Linked DNA regions of Homo sapiens: region 2 is linked to region 1. The links are contacts of gene promoters, found by promoter capture Hi-C in human tissues and cell types (Jung and others, 2019). All regions are on one chromosome and are shown on one strand. Each heading gives the region's core, a stretch centred on a gene start or on the middle of the fragment in contact. The rest is flanking DNA. Distances are from core to core; before and after follow the strand shown. Region 1 holds the start of SPP1 (secreted phosphoprotein 1). Region 2 holds the start of NUDT9 (nudix hydrolase 9).

Region 1 (6,263 bases), core at 2,489-4,988:
GAATACCCATCCCTTCAACTCCAATGTGGACACAGGGTCTCTACCATATACCTTCTCTACCCAGGGTGCTGCCAAGTTTACTGTTTAGCCACACCCCCTTAATCTCATTGGTTACTCAAGTTTCAAATTTCCTAGTTGATTTTCATGAACAAATGGGCTCCATGAGGGTAAGAATGGTGTCATTTAAGAAAAAAAAGTTAGTAATTTAAGTCTACCTTAAAAAAGTCTATCATTTAAAGAGCATTAGAATGTCCTCAGAGTTACTAATACTACTTTAATGAAGAAATAAATGCTAGATTCTTGAGTACAGGCAGATATTAGATATCAATATATGAGATATACTCTGAATTCAAGCATAGTGCCTATGCATTGTATTCATAAGCAAAAACTATAAGGTCAGAATTCGTGTCATAGATGCAGGGCTGAGTGGGCAATCACCAACAATTTATTGAGCACTTACTCCATAACAGTTCTATGTGTCTAAAGGAAAACTTTTTTTTATTTGTTTTAAATTGAAACTAATGTTTACCAATGGTACGACCACTTTGTCAGGAGCTGACTTTTGTTGTCTAAGCTATTGAGCAATGGAATAAAAGAGTTTATGGTGTTTTTGTTTTTTTTTTTTTGTATTTCTGAAATGCTCTAATTTCATGTCTGAACTTGAAAATAGCACCCTCTTATCATCCACCTTTGCTTGCTACCCTGTGATAAATAATGCCCCTTTTCCCAGTCTATATATGATGAATGGTGCTAGGCTTCCGATTAGCTTTAATTCCAAACTTCTTTATGACAGATTAGTGGTGTTACCAAAATATCAGAGTCATGTCTGAACCTTGACTCAAGGGAAAAAAATAATTACCTGTGGAGCTGAAAACACTGAAATAGTTGGTTACACTTTACTAAGTAAAATATAATTAGAAATGTTCAAATAAACTGGAAGTGAGTTTAATAAAGTTGTCCACCAAAGTAGTGACATTGAACACTTACTTTTTATTATATGGGAATTTTCATGTAATTCAGGAAAAAGACCTTAAGGCTCTTTATTTGTTTCCATGTGTCCTCTTAGTGTGTATAATTTAAGATCACAAATTACTCTTTGCATTCTAGTTTGACAACTAAACTTTTTTTACTTTCCACTCACAAGATTTATAGGGAATTTGTGCATTTTGACCTTTTGATTCTAACAACCAATCATTAGCCAATCAAGAATGGAAACTTTGGAAATATTACAGATAGAGCCACTGTGATTTAAATCATTTAACATGTTAATTCTGACAGAAAATCCTACTCAGAAAAAACAACCAGCAGCAGCATGTTTGAGTGCAAACAGCAAGAAACATCCCAAAACATGACCTCCCCGATAGTCAGAATGACGCAGCATCCATTTCCTACTTTACAGAATTGCCTCCCATTATAAATCACTTTATCTTCTCAACTCCAAAGCATCCCAGACACATTCTTTACCCGTGAATTCACAAGCCTTTTCTCTGAGAGAGGCCTTGGGACTAGGAACTTTTTGAATGAGTGTAGAAGTCGGGAAGGAGACAATAGTGTCAACTTGGGATTGCCTAAGGCAACAACAGAGCAAAACAAGAACGCTTTGGTTCTCTGGGTCTCTGTCCCTGATTGCATAGCGGGTCATTGTTGGGAAATATTTCCTCACCTGGCATTCCAAGAAATGGAGAGCTCCACAGCTGTATATAGTCCTGTCATTAAATACAGGAGTGTTCTATCCCGCTGGAATTAAGAAAATTGGTAGAACCAGATTGTGGTCTGAAATCTTTTTTCAGAAATGCTGCCATCGTGTGGCACTGCGGAGCTATGACCAGAAGAGTCCTGTAAAGGGTCGTATGGTTCATCTCAAGATGGCTGGGCTCCAGCATAATCTATTCCTATAATTAATTCTAGCTTCATATTGAATCATTCCCGTGGGCACAGAGTAAACTACAGTAAATCCTGTGGAAATTTTGTTGTTTTTAGAATTTTCAGACTTCCCTCCACTAAATTGACAACATGACACGCTTATGCGGGTATGTTTAAAGGAAAAAAATAGTTTTTAGAAGCAGAAAAAAGAAGTCTATTTTGCAACTTTATAATCTGTGTGCTTTCTATTTTATAGAGATAGTCGTCATCTTACTTATTAAAATGGGTGCTTATTACCTACAAACCAATCATATCAATTCATCTGGAATACATCCAATTTAAGGGAGACATATTTCCCCCTACCAAATGTTCATGAAACCTATGAATTAGCTATACACTATCACTGCAAGACATTATTTAATCTATATTTATATTAAAAGTAATATTTGGCAAAAGGAAGCTGACACTTTAGGACTAATAAAAACCACAATTACTTTTGCAGCAACCTAATAATAAATAGGACCATTTATTTTTCATCTCAATTACACACAAGTCTTAACAATAAAGGTGTAAGGTAAATAAATAGTGCAATCTGCATTTCACAACTGAGAAAGCAAATGAAGATAAGTAATCTCAAGGCAATATTAAATATTTTAAAAGGACCCAGAGCTCTGCTATCCCTGAATTCTGCTCTAATATTCGGACTTTCCCTGTAATTTTCTTTCATTCAGACACCTTTTAAATACCTAGTAAAGTGTTTTTTAATACAGAAATTTTTAAAAATGTTTTTCTTTTTAAGTGGCCTACTTTACATACCTTGGGAGAAAAACTAGAAAAAAAGATGATTCCAAAATCGAATCTGTTCCTTTAGAAATGTGCAAAATTTCCTTATTGATGCATACAATTTAAAGATCTTACGTCTACTCTCATTTTAATAACCTGTTCTTTTAAAGGACATTACAATTCGTGACTGCCTGCCCCTCTTAAAAATTTCATAATAGTTAACACACATATAGTCCTTAAGATACGCAGAGCATTTGCATCTAATATGTGCTAAGCATTGCTAGTTTAACATACTAATTCATTTAAACCCCTCAAAAACCCCATGACCTAGGTAATAGTATTGCATTTCATGGATGAGGGAACAAGGATAGGTAGGCTGGGCGATTTGCCCAAGGTTGCACAGGTCAGCAGTGACACAGCGGAATTCAGAACCACGGTCTGGCTCCTGAAGCAGCCCTCTCAAGCAGTCATCCTGCTCTCAGTCAGAAACTGCTTTACTTCTGCAACATCTAGAATAAATTACCATTCTTCTATTTCATATAGAATTTTATATTTTAATGTCACTAGTGCCATTTGTCTAAGTAACAAGCTACTGCATACTCGAAATCACAAAGCTAAGCTTGAGTAGTAAAGGACAGAGGCAAGTTTTCTGAACTCCTTGCAGGCTTGAACAATAGCCTTCTGGCTCTTCAATAAGTACAATCATACAGGCAAGAGTGGTTGCAGATATTACCTTTATGTTACTTAAACCGAAAGAAACAAAAATCCATTCTATTTAATTTTACATTAATGTTTTTCCCTACTTTCTCCCTTTTTCATGGGATCCCTAAGTGCTCTTCCTGGATGCTGAATGCCCATCCCGTAAATGAAAAAGCTAGTTAATGATATTGTACATAAGTAATGTTTTAACTGTAGATTGTGTGTGTGCGTTTTTGTTTTTTTTTGTTTTAACCACAAAACCAGAGGGGGAAGTGTGGGAGCAGGTGGGCTGGGCAGTGGCAGAAAACCTCATGACACAATCTCTCCGCCTCCCTGTGTTGGTGGAGGATGTCTGCAGCAGCATTTAAATTCTGGGAGGGCTTGGTTGTCAGCAGCAGCAGGAGGAGGCAGAGCACAGCATCGTCGGGACCAGACTCGTCTCAGGCCAGTTGCAGCCTTCTCAGCCAAACGCCGACCAAGGTACAGCTTCAGTTTGCTACTGGGTTGTGCATTCAGCTGAATTTCATGGGGAAGTCCAAATTCTAAGGAAAAATATTTTTAATTGTAATGCTGTTAAACAGACTTAAATTTTCTAGCCTTTTTAATAAGCAGATTAGATACATTGCAGGTCTCCTGGAACAAAGGTGTCTAGATATTTTGAATGCCAATCAAATTTAAAACTTAAAAATACTTCCACTGGGTCCTCAAAAGAACGGAAACCACCGATGCTAATCAGAAAATAGTAAAATTAAATTCCCCTTTGGAATAATTATACCTATATAATTTTCAGTGGGTGACTGTGCAGGAATTTAAAAGAAAAGGGATCTTTTATGCTAATTAAACCAATTACAATGCTATTTTTTAAATGATGTATCTCACTTTTAAGGGGAAGAAAACCCTTTCTGAATATGCCACTGCTAAATTTAGCTGTTAAAATATTCACCAAGATACCTGTATGACACTGTGTAGGCTTATTATTACAAATAGAAAAGCTGTTGGCTATTTTCAATGTTTTCCTTTGAATTTCAAATTTTTAGAACATCTTACTTAAATAACAAATTTCAGAGATAGTTTGATTTCACCTAAGTAGCACCTACTTGATAATTAAGCTAAAAGTCACATTTAAAGTACATGTTGGAAAAATGGATAAAGCAAATTTTTTTCATTTTTTTCTGTGAGTTTTTTCTTCTCTAAAAAATATTCCCATACTAGCTTATTAATATAATTAAGTTACTGTTGATCTGTTTGTAGGTTTAGAGAGCTAGATATATAAGGTAGTAATGGTATAATTTCTGGAACTCTAAATTTTAAAGTTGAATAAATACAGACTTGCAAAATTTCCCTTTCCCTTGCCTAATAGTGAAAGATGGATAATAGGTGGCAATATAAATATTAACTTGAAAGACTATAATACTAAAAAGAAAAGGCATCTCTAAGAAGTAGAAAAGATTCTATAGAAAATATATTTTATTTGTGATCATTTTGTAATGTGGTAGTATAAAAAGGTATCACTGTTGTAACCTATGAAGATGTCAGCTATTCCTTATGAAATATTTTGCAGGAAAACTCACTACCATGAGAATTGCAGTGATTTGCTTTTGCCTCCTAGGCATCACCTGTGCCATACCAGTGAGTACAGTTGCATCTTAAAGAAAATTCCTGAAAATAACTGAATTGTGTGCTTCCATGTGCTAGGAGGACATTCTTGTAATCTTTCTTCATCTTTTCTGTTTCTAAGGTTAAACAGGCTGATTCTGGAAGTTCTGAGGAAAAGCAGGTAAGCATCTTTTATGTTTTTATATAGTTAAATCATTTACTCAATTATGGCGAGAGGTGCAAGAAACGTATTTGCTGCGATATTACTTATCTTCTCAGTCAAATCCATTGGTTTACAAGTATTGATTGACTGCCTGCTATGAATCTAGGCCAGTACCAAGCACAGTATAGTTTTTAATAAATATAAGTTTATAAAACCAACCCAGATATTTTAAATATAATAATATCTAGGCATGTATGATGAGTTATCGCATGTAAGATAAGTTATATGAAGTTGTGTGACTTTTTTTCCATTAGTCCACATACTGATCTAAAAGCAGAAAATTCCAGCTTTTGCTTTGTTTAGTGGATTGCTAAGTTTAAAATTCACATTGGATATTAGTCAGAACTGTTTGTATGACCATAATATTCACAATATTGTCTGAGATATTAGCTGAGAAGCCCATTGTGAAAAGAAAGTCTATGTGTGCTGTTTGTATCTATTGTGATTGTCAGCTGATGTTAGATCACATTTTCTAACCAAACATAAGACCAACCAAACTCTTTATTATAATTATTTGACCAGCACTAAAGATGTACCTACCCCTCCACAACAGATGAAACTGTGCCAGCCAAACAACAAATGGGCATTGTCCCCAGAAGCTTGGACAAAAAGGCACACAGAGTTCAATTCCAGTTGAACAGAATAAAGGCCAAAATAGAGCTGCCTTGGGGGTCACTGCAATTAGACTGCTTAATGAAGACATTAAAAGAAGTATTCTGTGTTCGTTTGTGTGTGGAGGGGTGTGTGTGTCTGTTTTTCAACTGATTTGAAAATACAGGTGTTGAATCCTAATAATAAACCAGAAAAATTAACATCTCCAGAGAAGATAGAGGTCATACTATTTGAGGCAAGAATTAGCGTCTTTTTAATAAACGAAAATATGGCAAAGATGCATTTTAGAAGGCACGTGGAGCTATAACAATTTAAGAAATACGTGAAGAGCTCAAGGCTCAGCCTTCTAGAATCCCAGAAACTTAAAGCTAGTAAAAAATTGGGGAAGTCTCTAAGGATATATGCCTGAAAATACACACTGGTTATCTGTGAGTGTTAGGATTACTGGGTGGTTTTTAGTCTATTCATTTTGCTTACCTTTATTTTC
Region 2 (6,422 bases), core at 1,205-3,704, 550 kb before region 1:
TGGGGGGTGGCAGGGGGGCACGGTGGTTTGTTGATTGATGTGATTAGGCCATTTGGGTTTGTTAACTGGCTCTTATCCAGAGGAGAAACAAACTTCTATCTTTATGATAGGAGGCAGTGGTGCTAGCTAAAGCAAGGTACCGGTCTTGTACAGGGACTAGGAGCTAGGGTGAGTTATCTTTCTGAATATTTGCATTTCAAAGAGATGGCTCCCAAGTCTTTGAGGAAACTGTGTTGGGTGGTAGACTTACATCACCAAGGGTAGAGAAACAAGCTTTCTAAAGTGACTGCTCTAAGAAGGGGTTCAGGGACCTATCTGCCTATCATCAAGTTTTGGCTGGAACAAACAGTAAATTCTCCAGGCATTGAGTTTTGATTTCAGGGAAGCATTTTAACGGGATCTGGGGTCAGCCTAGGGACAAGGCCTTAAGCTACTGGAAGCTATGCTAGAGTATAATCAAATCTCTCAGTGCCGAGAAAAGAACTTTTATATGAGGAAGGTAAATCCTTTTAAATTACCAGGCCCAGAGAGACATTAAAATGAGACAGCAATTACATCCTACTCCCCACTTTGTTATGCATTCATCTCTTTAAACTGCTTACTATAGCCACAAGTAGCTAAAAATTAACCTAATAATGGTACACTGGACACTGTAACTCGCACCCTATAGCTTAACGTATAGCCAACCACTAACCAATACTATTTCTACAAACCAGTAATTCTTTACAACTTTGTATCAGTCAACTCCCTGTCCCCTTTTTGCCTTTAAAAACCTGATTGTAACAAAGGTGGACAGGAGTTCACATTTAAGGTTACTTGGGTCTGGGTCTTCTGGGCAGCTGTCCTCACTTTGGCTAAAGTAAATGCTTTAAGTTCTATCTCGTGCCTCAGCGTCTAGGTTGACAGTGTAGTTTGAACAGTCAATACCTGTCGAGAGTTCTGCAGTTTTCAGAACAATGGTTGTTAAAATTCGATTAATCTGGCTTTTAAGATGGTCAAAGTTTTGTAACGTCGGTGTATTGGAACCACACCACAGAAACAGCGGATCATGTAAGTAAAAGTCAAATAGTTGCCACATCAATAAGCTAATATAAATGAAGTAAGCCTGATTACAAGCTGCTTTGGACAGTCTGGGTTTCCAACTTTGTTTGTCGGTTTGTTTAATTTTTGCCTCTCAAGTTTATTATCCAGTATTATGTGTGTTGCCCTCTGTTCCTCCTCCAGCATGTGTGCCTATTTTCACAGCTTTTCTCCTCCACGAGTTTCCAAGGGCCACAACTGGTCCTAGCAAAGCCTTGTGAATGAAATCCAGCAATTGGAGCAGACAACTTGGTTAAGAAAACAAAAACAAAAAACCAAGAAACCCTTCAAGATACGAGGGCTGAGTCTCTGGACTATCTCCTCTTGCTGTAACCGCCCAAGGGGTTCACCTTTCCCGCTTCCTAGACAGAGCTGATTCATCAAGACAGGGGAATTGCAATAGAGAAAGAGTAATTCATGCAGAGCCAGCTGTGTGAGACCGGAGTTCTATTATTACTCAAATCAGTCTCCCTGAGCATTCAGGGAGCAGAGGTTTTTTCTTTTTTTTTTTGATACGTAGTTTCACTCTTGTCGCCCAGGGTGGAGTGCAGTGGTGCGACGTTGGCTCACTGCAACCTCCACCTCCCGGGTTCAAGCGATTCTCCTGCTTCATCCTCCTGAGCAGCTGGGACTACAGGCGCGTTTACCACCATGCCCAGCTAATTTTTGTATTTTTAGTAGAGACGAGGTTTCACCACGTTGGCCAGGCTGGTCTTGAACTCCTGACTGCAAGTGATCCCGCCTCGGCCTCCCAAATCAGTCATAATTTTGCAAAGGCGGTTTCATTCCCATAACGAAGTATTATTCAAAAATATGGCTAAGACCTGCGTCCTTCCGCAACAACTTACTCCCTAAAAAAACCAGAGCAGGGCCAGGCGCGTTGGCTGAGGCCTGTAACCTCAGCACTGTGGGAGGCCCAAACAGTTGGATTATTTGAGCTTGAGAGTTGGAGACCAGCCTGGGCAACATGGCAAAAATCTGTCGCTACAAAACATACAAAAATTAGCCAGGTATGGCGGTGTGTGCCTGTAGTCCCAGCTACGTCGGGGGCTGAGACAAGAGACTCGCTTAAGCCCAGGAGGTTGAGGCGGCAATGAGCTGAAATCGCGCCCCTGCACTGCAGCCTGGGCGACAGAGCCAGACTCTTGTCTCAAAAAACAAAAACCAAAAACCCAGGGCAGCAAGTCTCTCTCAAACCCCTTGGCTTCTTTCCCACTTATTCCCGTTCCAGTTCCTCGTCTGTTTCACCTTTCCTTTCCTCTGACACTTTCTTGGTAGTTCCCTGCGTCCCCAAGTAAGCCTGCGCAGACTGGGAAGTCTGGGAAGTCGGAGAAGGAAGGCGCTACCAAGCCGGCAACGCACGACCTTTGCTTTGCGGCGCGGCCGTAAAGCGCCATTACGCAGAGAGAAAGTTACGAGGTTCGTGGCCGCGGTTTCCCCAGGCAGCTGGCGCTGGAGGCTTCGGCGTCACGTGCTGGTCTGGATTTTTCTCGATGCACTGGGGAAAGCGGTGGACTCTTATCGTGGGAGGGCTCTTGATCTGTGATTTATAGATAGGCACAGCTACTCCCGTTCGGGAACCCAACGGCAGACAGGTCCTAGTGCCCATCAGATACCCGCGGCCGGGACTCGGAGCTGTGGGGTGTGGGGAGGCGGAGGCACCAACTAAGAGCGACCTAGCATCGCAAAGCCGCCCTCGGGGCGCTCATGGCGGGACGCCTCCTGGGAAAGGCTTTAGCCGCGGTGTCTCTCTCTCTGGCCTTGGCCTCTGTGACTATCAGGTCCTCGCGCTGCCGCGGCATCCAGGCGTTCAGGTATTCCACCCTCCTACTACCGGCTCCTTTGCCCTAGACCTTGAGTTGGGGGTGGGAAGCAGCTTTTTTTTCTGGCGTATTCTGTAGGCTTTGCTTTGCCTCTCGGGTTTTTATAGTCATATACAAGTTTTCAAAAAGGCTCTAAAATATTTTATCTGCCTTTTGAGGAAAACGAGTGGCAGGGACCCTTCTTGACTTCTGATTTTGAAATTTGCCATTCTCTGTAAATCATTGTTAGTATCACGAGAGAGTTTAAATAGCAATTGTTTGGGGTGGTGGTGTCCCGTGCCATTTTTTTATGGTTAATACTTAAAACATTATTATTAGTATTAATACATGTACATAGTTAAAACAACTTGAAAATGTAAAATGAAAAGTAAAATCACTATTCCCCCTGTCCCCTTTCCAGGGTGGACAATATATTATATTTACTATCTACCTCCTTTTTTTTAATAATTTGTCTATTGTGGTTAAATTTAGGGATTTATGGTGTCTTACACTGCCTCCTTCTGTTCTTCCCTTCTCCAGTTTTTATTCTTTGAGTTAGTAAACACAGGGTCCTAGGTGCAGCAGCCTTTTCTTATTTTATAGATATTAAAAGTCTTGAATCTACAAAGATGATAATTAGAAAAATCTATTTCCTAAATAATTTACTTACTGTTGGTCAATTGTTCTGTGTCTTTTTGGTCCTGTTTCCTTCTGTTGCTTTTTCTCGAACATGTGATGGGCACTGGTTATCTGTCTATATTTTGATTAATATGAGTAATAGGTCTTGTTTTCAGTACATGGGTCGCTAATTGACTTTTGGCTCTGTACCAGGTTGCCTAGATAGGAAGGTTTCAGTTGAGGGCATGTGAGCAGGTACCAGATGGGTAGACTGGGAACCTGCCTTTTGCTTCAGGCTTTGCAGTAGTGGTGGAGCAACTTCTCTGCTGAGTATAGCTGTTTATTTCCTCCGTGTGAACTGTAAAATTATTAAGCCTAAGTTTCTGCTGTGTACTCTTAACACCAGTATTCACAGTAGGGGTCCTACCCCTTCATTTCTAAAAAACTTTTGATTTTATCTTGGAGACAAACATAACTATTTTGGACTTTTTGCTTGGAGATTGGGGAGGGAGGAGGACTGAGTGATTTCCATGGTTATTGTCGCGCTGCCAGTTTATGATCCTTGGGCCCACTGACTTCAAGCTTGAAACCTCTAGCTCGGCTCAGCTTGTAGGAATAGCATTTCTCCCTAATGCGTTTTTTTTTTTTTTTTTTTTTTTGAGAAGGAGTTTCGCTCTGTCGCCCAGGCTGGAGCGCAGTGGCGCGATCTCGGCTCACTGCAACTTCCGCCTCCTGGGTTCAAGCGATTCTTCTGCCTCAGCCTCTTGAGTAGCTGAGATTACTGGCGCGCGCACGCCCGGCTAATTTTTTTTGTATTTTTAGTAGAGACAGGGTTTCACCATCTTGGTTAGGCTGATCTGGTCTTGAACTCTTGACCTCGTGATCCGCCCGTCTCGGCCTCCCAAAGTGCTGGGATTACAGGCGTGAGCCACCGCGCCCGGCCTTGGTGCATATTCTTATTTTACTTTGTCCTACTCTGGTTTGTAGGTCAATATTCCAACAACTTTTCATTTTCCTGAAGTTGGTTACCATCTGTCATTCACTGGTGGCATTTATTCCTTCTCCTGGTACGGATTTTATTTCCCTTTATCTATCTTTATCTTCTTTTAGTGGGATTTGAGGAAGGAAGGAATACACGTGTGTGCTCTCTGGAAATCTCTAATGCTCTTTTTGTTAGATGCCAGCAGAACAGTGTAAAGTTGCTTGACAGTTATTCTTCGTTTTTGTAACTCTGGGAACCCTACATGAGGCAGGTATATCCAGAACCAGAGACTGTACTGACTTGAAAGAAAAAGCCAACAGTTAACAAATGTGCCAAGTACCTGGTAACTAATGTGGCAGAATAGCTTGAACCGGGGAGGTGGAGGTTGCAGTGAGCTGAGATCATGCCACTGCATTCCATTCTGGGTGACAGAGTGATACAATGTCTCAAGAAAAACAAAAAAAGAATTTTATGGCCAGGCACAGTGGCTAACACCTGTAATCCCAGTGCTTTGGAAGGCTGAGGCAGGAGGATCGTGTGAGGCCAGGAGTTTGAGACCAGTCTAGGCAACTTAGCAAGACCCTTGTCTCTAAAAAAAAAAAACTGGGCCTGGTGGCATGCATGTGTAGTCCTCACTATCAGTAGGATCAGAGTAGGCTCAGAGACTACTAAGTGATCAGTAGGATTGCTTGAGCTCAGGAGTTGAGTTTGAGGCTGTGGTAAGCTATGATCGCATCACTGCATTCCAGCCTGAGTGGCACAGCAAGACCGTGTCCCTAGTGTTCTTTTCCTTTTTTTTTTTTTTTTTTTTGAGATGGAGTCTTGCTCTCGTTGCCAAGGCTGGAGTGCGGTGGCGTGATCTTGGCTCATTGCAACCTCCGCCTCCCAGGTTCTAGTGATTCTCCTGCCCCAGCCTCCCTAGTAGCTAGGATTACAGGCGCCCATCACCATGCCTGGCTAAGTTTTATATTTTTAGTAGAGATGGGGTTTTACCATTTTGGCCAGGCTGGTTTCGAACTCCTGACCTCAGGCAATCTGTCTGCCTTGGCCTCTCAAAGTGCTGGTGAATACAGGTGTGAGCCCCCACGCCTGGCCAAGACCCTGTCTCTTTGAAAAAAAAAAAAAAAAAAAGAATTTTACCAGTCTTTGATAATTTGGAAAAACCCAGAAAGTGACAGTTTTGCACTTAGTTTTTGTGATTACTAGAAGGTTTCCAATGTTCATTTTCTTTTTTAATTGCTCTGTCACCTAGGCTGGAGTGCAGTGGTGTGATCATGACTCACTGCAGTCTCAACCTCCTGGGCTCAGTGATTGTCCCAGCTCAGCATCCTGAGTATCTGGTACTACCGGTGCGCACTACCAGGCCTGGCTAATTAAAAATTTATTTATTGTTTGTAGAGATGGGTCTCCCTATGTTGCCCAGGCTGGTCTCAAACTATTGGGCTCAAGTGATCCTCCTGCCTTGGCCTCCTAAAGTTCTGGGATTGTAGGTGTGAGACACTGCTCCCAGTCATCAAATGTACATTTTCTAGAAAAAAGGTAGTATATTACAAAGATGTAGTGAATGCTTTTACATACCACAACATACAAATCTTCCAGAAGGATCTACTGGTGATGTGTGTAGAATATTGTTTTATTCCTGTGAATGCATAAAACATATGAATGAACCAAAAATGAAATAGAGATAGTAAAACATAGTGTTAAGAGCCTGGAATTCTAAGACAGCTTGCCTAGGTTTGGATCCTGATTTCTACTCTCAATTGTGTGACCTTGGTAAACTTATTTACCTCTCTGGGTCTTAATGTTCTTATTTCCTTTTTTTTTTTTGAGACAGAGTCTCGCACTGTCGCCCCAGCTGGTGTGCAGTGGTGTAATCTTGGCTCTCTGCAACTTGTGCCTCCAGGGTTCAAGCGATTCTCCTGCCTCAGCCTAGTGAGTAG

Evidence for each region. The method cuts DNA at HindIII sites, captures the fragments that hold promoters and counts their contacts. A contact is called where the count stands out against the background at its distance.
Region 2: the fragment with the promoter of NUDT9 here is called in contact with the fragment with the promoter of SPP1 in region 1 in 2 of the 25 tissues and cell types used here (adrenal gland and heart left ventricle).

What each region holds. Positions count from the first base shown.
Region 1 is chr4:87,971,976-87,978,238 of GRCh38, forward strand. SPP1 (secreted phosphoprotein 1) reads left to right here and starts at 3,739. Exons shown (of 7, transcript NM_001040058.2): 1 at 3,739-3,825; 2 at 4,907-4,974; 3 at 5,084-5,122. The coding sequence starts at 4,921. LOC124900730 (a long non-coding RNA gene) reads right to left here and starts at 1,794. Exons shown (of 2, transcript XR_007058172.1): 1 at 1,664-1,794. RefSeq lists promoters at 1,493-3,735, 2,735-3,822, 3,612-3,825, cis regulatory regions at 2,745-2,754, 2,970-2,978, 3,045-3,053, 3,491-3,506, 3,681-3,690 and 1 more and enhancers at 2,997-3,017, 3,380-3,879, 3,642-3,712. The HindIII fragment of the contact is 7,576 bases long and covers 865-6,263 here.
Region 2 is chr4:87,420,119-87,426,540 of GRCh38, forward strand. It overlaps NUDT9 (nudix hydrolase 9), which reads left to right and starts at 2,455. Exons shown (of 8, transcript NM_024047.5): 1 at 2,455-2,894. The coding sequence starts at 2,788. RefSeq lists enhancers at 2,224-2,273, 2,343-3,277, 3,821-4,324, 4,325-4,826. The HindIII fragment of the contact is 9,950 bases long and covers 1-6,422 here.